Regions from separate parts of the Homo sapiens genome. Here regions 1 and 2 are each linked to region 3. Evidence: promoter capture Hi-C in human tissues and cell types (Jung and others, 2019). All regions are on one chromosome and are shown on one strand. Each heading gives the region's core, a stretch centred on a gene start or on the middle of the fragment in contact. The rest is flanking DNA. Distances are from core to core; before and after follow the strand shown.

What was found. The method cuts DNA at HindIII sites, captures the fragments that hold promoters and counts their contacts. A contact is called where the count stands out against the background at its distance.
Region 1: a contact is called between a fragment that was not itself captured here and the fragment with the promoter of SHH in region 3, in 3 of the 25 tissues and cell types used here (hippocampus, lymphoblastoid cells and thymus).
Region 2: a contact is called between a fragment that was not itself captured here and the fragment with the promoter of SHH in region 3, in 1 of the 25 tissues and cell types used here (dorsolateral prefrontal cortex).

What each region holds. Positions count from the first base shown.
Region 1 is chr7:156,437,584-156,441,820 of GRCh38, forward strand. LOC285889 (a long non-coding RNA gene) reads right to left here. Exons shown (of 3, transcript NR_038232.1): 2 at 3,647-3,797; 3 at 206-1,412. Among named protein-coding and RNA genes, the nearest start is that of LINC00244, 100 kb to the right of the region's middle. RefSeq lists an enhancer at 2,673-3,547. The HindIII fragment of the contact is 7,433 bases long and covers 1-4,237 here.
Region 2 is chr7:156,595,945-156,600,571 of GRCh38, forward strand. The region is part of intron 2 of RNF32-DT (RNF32 divergent transcript); the gene reads right to left. Among named protein-coding and RNA genes, the nearest start is that of RNF32-DT, 42 kb to the right of the region's middle. The HindIII fragment of the contact is 5,421 bases long and covers 1-4,627 here.
Region 3 is chr7:155,809,576-155,814,148 of GRCh38, forward strand. It overlaps SHH (sonic hedgehog signaling molecule), which reads right to left and starts at 2,888. Exons shown (of 3, transcript NM_000193.4): 1 at 2,248-2,888. The coding sequence starts at 2,547. The HindIII fragment of the contact is 7,668 bases long and covers 1-4,573 here.

The DNA of each region.
Region 1 (4,237 bases), core at 189-2,688, 630 kb after region 3:
CCCTCGTCAACCACTTCTCAATTCCTGCAGCCCTACGTCTATCAACACAGACGTCTTAGAGTCTCTGGGACCTCGTTCTATACGGGACTTGTCTTTTTTAGAGTCTGAAATTCGCATTTCTCCCTTCAAATTCCCCACTTTAAATTAACATGAAAAGGCTAAACTTTAATAGAAGAGCCGCTCAATTATGATCTGGGCAATGGATGGGTGTGAATTCCTTTATTCTACAAATATTTATTGGGCCTTCGATATGGAGAAGGCCCATGCTAGGCAATGAGAAATGCTGTTACACTATGAAATGTTCTAACAATTAAATGCTTCTGTGTGTAGAATGGTTTATAACTAACTCAAAGTGCTCTGTGCAAAGGATCCCCGAAGTGAGCGGCGTGCTGGCCACGAAGAGTTTCATCACTTACTGTAAATCACATAAACAAATAACAGCATTATTTAAATGAGGGCCCTTTACTTACAGAAACCCTATTGCAGTTATTTTCTTTCAAGATCTAATTAGATTTAAAGCTTCATTTGGAAAACAGAAGATGAAAATGAACCTCTTATCCTAAGGGCATCTGGATGAGAATCAAATGCATACATGATTTTTTTTTATCATACAGCATATTTGCCCAGGTCATAAGCAAACAAAAGAGCTCTGTTCTACGGTGTAGTAAGAAGGAAGAAAAAATAAACTGAGCCATGTCTTGTGACAGTCGATGCTCATGCTTAGTGTGTTCATGATTGATTCCCTTGTTTTTGACACTGTTTTAGGAAAATTAGCACTAATTTGATCAGTCCCTGTACATTTGAGATACATAAATTTAGGGATTGTATTGAAACTCCCAAAACAAACATACACTACACCATACTTTTAGGAGTCAATATAAAGTATTCTGAAATTGAAAATAAACAGATAAGTAAGTTACACCCATCCTTAAAGATGTACAATGAGTAACATGGCCCTTAGTGGGGCCTTTAAATATTTGAATGATTGGCTGGATGAGCCAGTGAGACAACTCAGCGGACAACTTTTGAACTTGGCCCACTTGGAAAGCACATGCCTTTGTCAGAAGCTCATTCTATCAGGCCACAGTATTTGTTACAAAACATACAAATATAACTGCTTTCTGATTGTAGTAACTATATTTTTTTAATGTTCCTAAAACAAAGCATATGAAGAAGAAACACGCTTGTATTCTTCATTTTGCCAAAAGATTCTTAAATTTAAAGGAGCTGCAGGAAAGTTCTTGCGTACATGAAGCTGCCAGGTGCATTTAAGTGGTGGTCTATAAAGCAGTGGCTTTCTGGCTGGGCGCGGTGGCTCATGCCTGCAATCCCAGCACTTTGGAGGCCGAGGCAGACAGATCGCTTGAGCACAGGAGTTCGTGACTAGCCTGGGTAACACGGCAAAACCCCATCTAAAAAAAATAAAATAAACAAATACAAAAATCAGCCAAGCATAGTGGTGTGCACCTGTAGTCCCAGCAACTCAAGAGGCTGAGGTGGGAGGATTGCTTGAGCCTGGGAGGCAGAGGCTGCATGAGCTGAGATCATGCCACTGCACTCCAGCCTGGGTGACAGAGTGGGACACTGTCTCAAAAAAAAAACAAAAGAAAAATTAAAAAATAAAGTGGTGCCTTCTTGACCACACTCAGCAGAGACGGATAAGGCACAGAAATGTACAGTTCAGAGGAGCCACTGCTGAGAGATTGGTCGGGAATGACTATCAGGCCACCTCTGGAAAGACCAAGTCTGTGTGAGTCCATTATAGAGATTCTATCCACACTTGCTCTGTGACCACATCTACCCCGTCACATCCGTTGGTCCCTGTGGAAGTTGCCTCTTTGCAGTGACACTTTCATAGATTTCTTGAGGAGTCACTGACTGGCAGACAGTGGCACTTTTAACAAGATGGAAACTCCCTGTGCAGATAATTAAGAGTCCCAGAGAGAGGAGAAGTAGTGCTTCCCGCATCTGCTCCCACCTCCAGCCTCCTGGGTCCGCTCAGCTCCATCCACTTACTCCGTCTGAGCTTCCCAGGGACTTCCAGCCACCAGGTGAAGAAAGCATGTGAGAAGCTGTTCGCTGGTCAGTGTCCTTCACTGGCTTCTCCAGGTTTCCCCTAACAGGAAAGGGTTTCTCATTCCAATCTGCGTTTTAGGGTGCTGAGCACCTCCATGTAGGGGTGCCAAGCCACCTGCGTGTCTGGGTGCTGAGCCACCTGCATGTCGGGGTGCTGAGCACCTGTGTGTTGGCGTGCCAAGCCACCTGCGTGTCTGGGTGCTGAGCCACCTGCATGTCAGGGTGCCAAGCCACCTGCGTGTTGGGGTGCTGAGCCACCTGCATGTTGGGGTGCTGAGTGACCTGCATGTTGGGGTGCTGAGAGACCTGTGTGTCGGGGTGCTGAGCCATCTGTGTCTTGAGGTGCTGAGCACCTGCATGTTGGGGTGCCGAGCCAACTGCGTGTCGGGGTGCTGGGCACCTACTTGCTTGTCCTCACTTATGCCCCTTCCTTCTCTGGCCCTGGACTCTCAGCCCATGCCTGGCCACCTGGGTGTAGACCTCACATGGCTCCAATCTGACTCACTTCTGCAGTCACTCCTGTGCCCACGGCTGCTCCCTGGGAATGGATGGAGTGTGGGCTTGGTGCCTGGCCTAGAAGACGAAAGAAGAGGGGGCCCTGTATGGACACCTCCACTCTGGCCCCGCCAGAGTTAGGGAAGAGGGAAGGAGAACGGGCTGGCTCAGATGGGGCACCAGGTCCCTTAGATGCCCAGGAAGGAGGCCGTCGAACCCCTGGCTCACAGTGCATCCTCCTCTCCTGGCTTCCCCTAACAGCTGTTTTCCACACGGCCTATGTGATAGCAGGCTTGTTTGGTCACATTTCTGCCTAATTATTTCATGTTCAAAAATCATTACTGACTAAACGATGAGATCCTTAAAGGCCCCTGGCACTTGCCCAGTGGAAAAGTCAGTGAGGAAATCGACGCTGATGCCTCCCAAGCCCAAGCTGAGGTCGCAACAGCCCTCCCTTCTAGACCGGCAGGTCCAGCTGCCAGCCCCTCCACGGGTCCTGAAGGCTCTACACCCAGGCGGCGATTCCCCTGCACCCCGGCCTCCTTGAGGGTCCCTGTCTCAGCGCCACCAGCTACACACACCAAAAACCAGGGCACACTCCTTGACACACTTTCCATTTCATCCCCAAAATCAAACGCAAGCTGCTACCAACGTCCCATCGGGCTTTCCCCTGTGCCTGTGCTTTTTCCACACTCCACACATTTGCCTCGGCCCTTCTCCCACCCCCATCCGAGACACCGCCGCTTCTCACCTGCCCCCCCGGCAGTAGGTCCTGGTTGTGTAGGATGGACCACACTCTCTGCAGCCCATTCCCACACGACAGCCAGAGTGTCTGATCTGCCACTGATCTGACTGGGTCACTCCTGCACCCAAAACCCTCCCATGGCTCTCCGTGACCCTCCAAAGCGATTCCAGACCCATTCTCCTGCTTCATCATAAGCCCCCATCGACCTCACCTCCCATCCCCCAAGGCCGTGAGCAGTCCCTCTGGCCTCCTTCCGCCAGCTCGGCAGCATCCTTGCACCTCCGGCTTTTGCACAAACTGCCCCCATTGCTCTTCACCCCCCTCACTTACCTCATTCTCGTTCTTCCAAACGCCACTTCCTCAGCAAAGCCTCTCCCCGCTGTCAACTTCCCTCTGTACATGCTCACGACACTGCACTTGTCCTCCCTTCGTACCCTGTGATGATGGCTCCACTTCCTGCTGCATGGACTCCTGAATACACCTAATAAATAAATAAATAAATAAATATAAAACAGCAAGCAAACAACAGAAACCACCGCTGTGCACTCCTGCATTACATCAGATCCAATTTACCTGAACCACAAGAGGTTAATTGCTTCCAAAGGTGGTGTGTTTTCTAACTGGTGCAAAAAAGACCATTGCAAACTCTGGGATTTAGGACTTTTCTACGACAATTCATGACAGTGATGATGAGACTGTGTGCTCGGAGGAGCCACAGAGCAGAGGGTACACAGACCCTGCAGAGGCACAGCAGGGCCTGGAATTCAGCAGGGGACTAAGGCACCCGGAGTCACACAGTGGGAGGCCATCACAAACCCCAGCCCTAAGGGACCAGGGAGAGAGTGATTACCCGAACCCACTGGCCGCAGAGAGAGAAATGAGACCCCATCCAAACACGACCTGGCAGGAAAGTTGCCAGGA
Region 2 (4,627 bases), core at 938-3,437, 790 kb after region 3:
CGATGTTGGCTCATTGCAACCTCCACCTCCCAGGTTCAAGCAATTCTCCTGCCTCAGCCTCCCGAGTAGCTAGGACTACAGGCGCCCACCACCACGCCTGGCTAATTTTTTGTATTTTTAGTAGAGATGCTGTTTCACCGTGTTAGCTAGGATGGTCTCGATCTCCCGACCTTGTGATCCACCTGCCTCAGCCTCCCAAAGTGCTGGGATTACAGGCATAAGCCCACACTCGGCCTATGGTGTTAATTCTGGGATCAAATTAGGCTCAAGCTGGGTGCAGTGGCCCACGTTTGTAATCTCAGCAGTTTGGGAGGCCAAGGCGGGCAGATCACCTGAGGTCAGAAGTTCAAGACCAGCCTGGCCAACATGGTGAAACCCTGCTTTTACCAAAAAATACAAAAATTAGCTGGGCACAGTGGTGCACACCTGTAGTCCCAGCTACTGGAGAGGCCGAGGAGGGAGAATCATTTGAACCTGGGAGGCAGAGGTTGCAGTGAGCCGAGATCGCACCACTGCACTCCAGCCTGTGTGACAGAGTGAGACCCTGTCTCAAAAAAAAAAAAAAAAAAAAAAAAAAATAGGCTCACATGTCTAGTTACTTCCAGTTTCACATCAATACACTTGTGGTTCTGAGCCACCTAGTAGTCTTTCTTTGGTGATAACACTACAGGCAGCTGGTTGTCTTCCAACTGTGTAAAAACCATATTTTGCTTCTGTAAGCCAAAGTACACAAGAGTCTCACATTTTATTCCTACTATGTCTTACCAGGTCCCTCAACAAGTGAAATCCAACAAACTCTGTCATTTAATTAATAGTATTTATCGATATTAATTTCTTAGTTTTGATTACTATATGATGGTTATATAAGATATTAATACTGGAGGAAGTTGAGGGAAGGGTATATTGGTAACTGCAGTATTTTGCAACTCTTTAAGTCTAAATCATCTCAAAGTTAAAAGTTTAAAAAAAAAATCAGGCTTTGGAATTGGTCTGGAAATGAGGATAAAGAAATATTAAAGTTGTTGCCTTCGTTTTCTGGTTCAGGGATTGAGGGATGGTGGTGCCACAGCCTTTAATAAGGAATCCTCTTTTAGGTAGGAAAATATTGGCACCTGTAACAAATAATCCTCAAAATTTAAACAGCTTAACAAGACAAAATTTTTATTTTTCTCTCAAACCACAATTCCAATGTGGATATTCTGTCATGACTGGCAATTGAGGGGTGGGTTCCAGGGCACTATGCCCCATGGCTGGCAATTGAGGGGCAAGCTAGGGGGTGCTATGCCCCATGGCTGGCAATTGAGGGGCGAGTTAGGGGGTGCTATGCCCCATGGCTGGCAATTGAGGGGCAAGCTAGGGGGTGCTATGCCCCATGGCTGGCAATTGAGGGGCAAGCTAGGGGGTGCTATGCCCCATGGCTGGCAATTGAGGGGCAAGCTAGGGGGTGCTATGCCCCATGGCTGGCAATTGAGGGGCGAGTTAGGGGGTGCTATGCCCCATGGCTGGCAATTGAGGGGCAAGCTAGGGGGTGCTATGCCCCATGGCTGGCAATTGAGGGGCGAGTTAGGGGGTGCTATGCCCCATGGCTGGCAATTGAGGGGCAAGCTAGGGGGTGCTATGCCCCATGGCTGGCAATTGAGGGGCAAGCTAGGGGGTGCTATGCCCCATGGCTGGCAATTGAGGGGTGAGTTAGGGGGTGCTATGCCCCATGGCTGGCAATTGAGGGGCAAGCTAGGGGGGTGCTATGCCCCATGACTGGCAATGGAGGGGTGGGTTGGGGAGAGCTACCCCACACACTGTTATTTCAAGACTCAAGCTAATGGAGGCTCTGCCATCATCAATGTGTGGCTTCTAAGGTTTCCCAGGGGGTCAACATCTACCTGGAAACTGGGAAAGAGTAAAAGGATTGCCCAAGACAATCCCATTTACAATAGCTACAAATAAAACAGAATACCTAGGAATATATTTAACCAAGGAGGTGAAAGATTGCTACAAGGAAAACTACCAAACACTGATGAAAGAAATTGCAGATGACACAAACAAATGGAAAAACATCCCATGCTCATGGATGTTAAGATTAATATTGTTAAAAAAACCATACTGCCCAAGCAATCTACAGATTCATTATAATCTCTATCAAAATACCAATGTCATTTTTCACAGACTTAGAAAAAAAAATCCTAAAAGTTATATAGAACCACCAAAGAACATGAACAGCCAAAGCAATCCTAAGCAAAAAGAACAAAGCTGGAGGCATTACATTACCTGACTTCAAATTATACTACAAGGCTATAGTTACCAAAACAGCATGGTACTGGTACAAAAACAGACACATAGATCAATGGAACAGAATAGAGAACTCAGAAATAAAGCTGTACATCTATAGCCAACTATTCACAAAGGCAACAAAAACATACACTGGGGAAAGAATACTCTTTTCAATAAATGGTGCTGGGAAAATCGGATTGTCATATGCAGAAAAAAGAAACTGGACCCCTATCTCTCACGACATACAAAAATCAACTCAAAGCCAGGCATGGTGCCTCACACTTGTAACCCCAGCACTTTGGGAGGTGGAGGCAGGCGGATCACTTGAGGTCAGGAGTTTGAGACCAGCCTGGCCAATACAGTGAAACCCCATCTCTACTAAAAAAAAATACAAAACTTAGCCAGGCATGGTGGTAGGCACCTGTAATCCCAGCTACTCGGGATGCAGAGGCAGGAGAATCATTTGAACTTGGGAGGCCGAGGTTGCAGTGAGCTGAGACAGCTGCCTCAAAACAAAAACAACAACAAAAAAAGTCAACTCAAGATGGATTAAAGACTTACATGTAAGACCTGAAACTAAAAATACTAGAAGAAAACCCAGGGAAAACTCTTCTACACATTGGTCTAGGAAAAGAATTCATGCCTAAGATCTCAAATGCAGAAACAACTAAAGCAAAAATAGACAAATGGGACTTAATTAAACTAAAAAGCTTCTGTACAGCAAAAGAAATCGTCAACAGAGTAAAGAGATAACCTGCAGAATGGTAGAAAATATTTGCAAACAATGCATCCAACCAGGGACTGATATCCAGAATTTACAAGGAATTCAAACAACTCAACAACAACAACAAAAATAAGCCCATTAAAAAAGTGAGCAAAGGCACCATCACTGGCCATCAGAGAAATGCAAATCAAAACCACAATGAGATACCATCTCACACCAGTTAGAATGGCGATCATTAAAAAGTCAGGAAACAACAGGTGCTGGAGAGGATGTAGAGAAATAGGAACACTTTTACACTGTTGGTGGGACTGTAAACTAGTTTAACCCTTGTGAAAGTCTGTGGCGATTCCTCAGGGATCTAGAACTAGAAACACCATTTGACCCAGCCATCCCATTACTGGGTATATACCCAAAGGACTATAAATCATGCTGCTATAAAGACACATGCACATGTATGTTTATTGTGGCACTATTCACAATAGTAAAGACTTGGAACCAACCCAAATGTCCAACAATGATAGACTGGATTAAGAAAATGTGGCACATATACACCATGGAATACTATGCAGCCATAAGAAATGATGAGTTCATGTCCTTTGTAGGGACACGGATGAAATTGGAAATCATCATTCTCAGCAAACTATCGCAAGAACAAAAAACCAAACACCACATATTCTCACTCATAGGTGGGAATTGAACAATGAGAACACATGGACACAGCAAGGGGAACATCACACTCTGGGGACTGTTGTGGGGTGTGGGTAGGGGGGAGGGATAGCTTTAGGAGATATACCTAATGCTAAATGACGAGTTAATGGGTGCAGCACACCAGCATGGCACATGTATACATATGTAACTAACCTGCACATTGTACACATGTACCCTAAAACTTAAAGTATAATAATAATAAAATAAAATAAAAGTGAGCAAAGGACAAAAATAGGCATTTTTCAAAAGAAGTTATACAAATGGCCAACTAGCATATGAAAAAATGCTCATCACTAATCAGAGAAATGTAAATTAAAATCACAATTAGATACCATCTTATACCAGTCAGAATGGCTGTTGCTTAAAAGACAAAAATAACAAATGTTGGCAAGGATATGGAAAAAAGAGAACACTTATACACTGTTGGTGAGGATGTAAATTAGTGCAGCCTCTATGGAAAACAGTATGGAGGCTGGGCGCGGTGGCTCATGCCTGTGATCCCAGAAATTTTGGAGGCCGAGGTGGGAGGATCGCTTGAGCCCAGGAGTTTGAGGCCAGCCTGGCCAACGTGGTGAAATCCCATTTCCACTAAAAATGCAAAAATTAGCCAGGCGTGGTGGCACACGCCTATAATCCCAGCTACTTGGGAGGCTGAGGCATGAAAATTGCTTGACCCTGGGAGGTGGAGGTTGCAGTGAGCCGAGATCATGCCATTGCACTCCAGCCTGGGCAACAGGGCAAGACTCTGTCTCAAAAAACAAAACGAAAACAGCATGGAGATTTCTCCAAGAACTAAAAGTAGAACCACCATTCAATCCAGTGATCCCACTACTGAGCGTCGATCCAAAGGAAAAGAAACCATATCAAAAAGTTACCTGCACTCGTATGTTTACAGCAGCATTATTCACAATAGCAAAGACGTGGAGT
Region 3 (4,573 bases), core at 1,638-4,137:
GACCTTTGTGGGGTCTGCCTGATAATCCCGGCCTGGCTCTCCTCACCCAACCCCCACTTGGGCCGTCCTTCCCCCTCCTTTTGTGTTGGGAACGGGAATAGCCACTGCCCAAGGAAAAAAGTATTTGTTTTCGTTTCGTTCGTCTGAGGGAAGTTGACAGAAGGTCAGAAGTTCAAATGCTGCCTGTGCGCGCGGCGGCGAGAGTGGCCGGGCGCGGGGCCGCTGGGCCCTGCGTCCCCCGGCAGGGCGGACGGGGGTCGGGGGGAGGCCCCCGGGCTGGGGGCTCCGGCTGGGACGCGGAGGCCTAGAGGCCAGGCAGGCGGCGGACTGGGGATGGGGGCGCGTCCCAGGGCAGGCCGGCGGAGCCCGCGATGCGCCCCGGCCCCTGCGCGGGCGCCCCCATCTCCGCGCCCCCGCCGCCGGGGACACTACAGCGAGCCCGGCGCTGCTGTTAGCTCCTGCGGTGCCTGCGCTCCCGCGCGTGGAGCAGCAGAGCCCGGCGGCTCCAGCCCAGCCCCTCGCGCACTGAAACCCTAGCCGCGGGGGATCGATAACCCGGGAGTAAGTGGGGCTGCAGGCGTCTGCCTCGCTGCGCGGCTCTGTGCGCTTGCAGCTTTGCAGCAGGGCTGCAAGGCCCAAGCCCTGGGAAGGTGTGCGAGCCCAGGACCCCTTCTGCGGTATTGGCCTCCCGCAGAGCAGGGCAGAAGCTGACCCACTCTGGCTCTGGGACCTCGGGTATCCACGCCCCCGCCGCTCTCTCCGCAGTGCCTCCCTCCTCTCGGGTTCCGAGGGACCCTGGCAAGGCCCCTCCTCCGCGGGGAGTGAGGGTGACGAGAGGATGGGCGCCTCGGGCTAGCCGGAGAACTCCCTCCAGCCAGCTGCACGCAACGGGCACCCCATGGCCCGTGCAGAGTTAATTGTGGATCGCGCTGCTGTCTGGCACTGGCGCGCGCGTCCACACTCGCGGTCCAGATTTAAGGTGGTCGGGAGCAGATGAGGGAGAGCAAGGAAATCAGGACCATTTCCCATTCCTCTCCCTTCCGACAGCTGGAGCAGGCTACCTTGCCTGCCCCTCGCCTTTCTCGGCCTCAAGCAAGCCTGGGAATCGGGTCGGGAAGCAGGGCGGCACGGAGGTAGCTCCTCTCTCTCTGCCGTCAGTACCCTCCCCCTGCACTTGCGCCCCACCAGCGCCACTCCATCAGCCGCTGTACGCACCTAGCCCTAAAGGTAGGACTTGAATATTTTAATAGGGCAATAAAAAGGATGTTGACCTATATTTGCAAGGAAACCCATTTCTGGCTTCAGTTATACGTGCATGGAGTTTCAGAAAGTCTAGAATTGGCTGGGAGATTGGCAGCTCAGAAATCTCAAAGGAGGTGGGGAGAGAGAGAGGAATTCATATTTTGCTTAGCTTCCCCTCCCCCCACACTAATATTTATTCGCTCTTAATTCTTATGCAAGCAGGTTGAAAACTAAAGTGATGCAATGCCAATAAGTTCTAAGTCCCTCCCCTAAGGTACCTCGGGCTTGGAAGAACGAAAGAGCATCCTTAAAGAAATATCAATACATTCACACTCTGATGGGCACAATTGCGGACACGCAATCGCAAAGCCAGCTCTGCGATACAGCCAGCCACCCAGGGACGGGCGGAGTCTCCCCTGGAGCCCCTGCCTTTTGTCAGAACCGCCTCCTGGCTTTTCCAGTTGAGAATTCTTTGGTGGGGAGGTGCAGGGTGGGGGTAGTGGTGGGAAAGAAAACCACAGAGGCAACGGGAAACGTGGGGGCTCTGAGCTCCAATGCCCAAGGCTACGTTCGTTCGTTCGTACAGTACCAGGAGACCACTTCATGTTTGTGGGAGGGGGATTCCCAGCCTCTCCTTCCATTTCCACTCCTGACTTGGAAAGGGCCGACGCCCCCAAAGTGAAGGTCTCCCCAAGTTACAAGCCAGGGCAGAGGTAGGATGGGGAAGGCCATTGTAGCAAGACTCATCAAATCAGGGCCATAATGAACCACGTCTGTTACCGTCCTCACCCCCACCACACCCTAAACTTCTCCAGCTGGACCCTTGACCTCCATTCTCCTCCAGGAAGAGGAAGAGATGGGGGGCGGGCAGGTGGGTGGGGAAGGAGCGGGTGAAATCACCTTCCTATCTGCCCGAAGAGCAAACAGAGTTAAGTCTGGAAGTGTTCGGCTTCTCGTAACCCCCTGGAAAGCCACACATTCCACGCCCCGGCGCTGGGTTCCTACCTGAGTCATCAGCCTGTCCGCTCCGGTGTTTTCTTCATCCTTAAATATGATGTCGGGGTTGTAATTGGGGGTGAGTTCCTTAAATCGCTCGGAGTTTCTGGAGATCTTCCCTTCATACCTTCCGCTGGCGCCTAGGGTCTTCTCGGCCACATTGGGGATAAACTGCTTGTAGGCTAAAGGGGTCAGCTTTTTGGGGTGCCTCCTCTTCCCGAACCCCCTGCCCGGTCCGCACGCCAGTCCCGAGCATACCAGCAGCGAGGAGACGAGGACTAGCAGCAGACATCTCGCCAGCAGCAGCATCTCGCCCATGGAACTGATGACTTCCGAGCTGTCCCCGTGCGGGTCCGTGCGCGAGTGCGCGCGGCGGGTGTGTGCGTGTGCGCTCTCTCTTGCGCTTTCCCTTCCTCGCTCCGGCTCGCCCGCTCGCTCTCTCCCTCGCTGGCTGCCTCGCTCTTTCTCTTCCTATATAACCTTGCCCGCCGCGGCTGCGGGGGACTCTCCACCGCTCCCCACCCAGACAGGGGCTGGAATGGCAGGCTGCCGGCCGCTGATAACGGAACACATCGGAGTTGGGTCGCGAGACAGCAATCAAAAGACAAAAAGAGTCTGATTTTAAATGGTAGCAAGCCTGGAGAGCTTGTGAGAGAGGCTGCCTTTAGCACTATATTATAGCTGCCAGGGGCGCATCTGATTGGCCAAAGCCGCACAAGCTTGTCTTCTGATGTTAACCCTGAAGAAGACTACGTTTTTTTTTTCTGTTGCTGCTGTTGCTTTATTTTCACCTGAAGGATTCGAGTTAAAAAAAAAAAAATCTTTCCTAAGATAAAGGTGGGCGGGAGGGAGGAGCGCATGTCTTGTGGTAACAGCAGTTACTCCCGGCTTTGTGTACATCCTTGCGTTTCCCCCTGACTTTCCCTGGAATGGTAGGTGCTTCAGTTAAAACCAACTTAAGTTTTTAAAGGACAGTTTAAACCCCCGCAAGCTTCAGTCATCAAGCACAGAGTCGCTCACACATTTGAGGGGCACAGCTGCCCAGCTGTTATTTAATTTTTCTTCCCCAGGGACTTTATAGTGCAGGCTGGCTCTCCCTGCATTTTGAAGAAAGAGGACTGAGCCCCTCCTGAAGACTCAGCCTCTGTGGACCGAGGATAATTATGAGTGACCATAACTTAAAGCACTGGTATTTGAAATGCTTTAAGTGCCTTAGAAAAATGTAAAAATACTGCTCTTTTATTGTGCTTCAATTAATACATTTTTTTTTTTGTAGAGCTCTGCAAATGGGATGGAGGCGTGCTCAAGGGCAGTTACAGAGTGAACTGCGGGCGTCAGGGTGGATGGGCAAAGCAGGTCTGGGGGCTGCACCCCAGCACAGGGGAGAGAGTGGGGGCCAGTGTGTGCGCTGGGTGTGTGGAGGCCATTGCAGGGTGTTGGGGGGGGGGCAGGCGAGTGGGCGAAGCTGTGCTCACACAACCCCCACGATCGATCAGAGCAAAGTGCAGAGCCAGGGGTGAGCTGAATGTGGAATTCAGGCTCCTTGCAAAGCTGGCCTTGTGTGGGGGCTCAGCAGGCCAGCAGTCTTCAGGCACAGGAGCCACCAGTCCTAGGGGCTGCAGCCCAAGGGGTCAGGGGCCCTGGGGGAACAGTGTTCTGGTTAACGAGGGGCTTCCTAGAAAGAGGGCACAGTGCCCAGGAGGTGGCAATCTTTGAGTCTATAATCACCTCACTTTTTGCAGAAAAAGGAAAAAAACTCAAAAGTCCTAAGTAAACCAGGAAAATAAAATTTGAAGCTCCCTCTCAACCCTGCTTTTCTTTTTTTTTTTAAAAAAAAAAAAACAGATCATGCCCTTCCCCTTCTCAATCGCCATCCCACTCATGTGCAATGATTCCTCTAGCATAGGATTAGAGAGTGAGGGTTATTTACGTGGAGGGGAAATCCTGACCCTGAGGAGTCATCAGATGCTGCAAATGTGGCCCTGTGAAGTTAAACACTCTCCCTTGACCCCGGGCCCTTGGAGTGGAGGGGGAGAGGACCCCTGTGAAGCTCAGCCCTCAAACGATGGAAGTTTCCAGAAGTTCCCTTTGCAGATCAACTTTTTGTGTGTGTGGTGGGGGAGAGAAGGAGAGGAGCATCTTAGGACACATCTGTCTTGGGCATGAGAGGCTGAGCGTTAACAAGACTCGGTGGCCTGGGTGCCTTTGGGGAGGTTGACCCGGGCTCCCCTTCCCGCCTCTCTTTCTTGTTCCTTTCCATGGTTTGTGACGAATCGTGATCCCTGGAGGAGAGCACCGTGGGGGAGCAGCGTCCACTTGACCAGGCCCCGGCAGC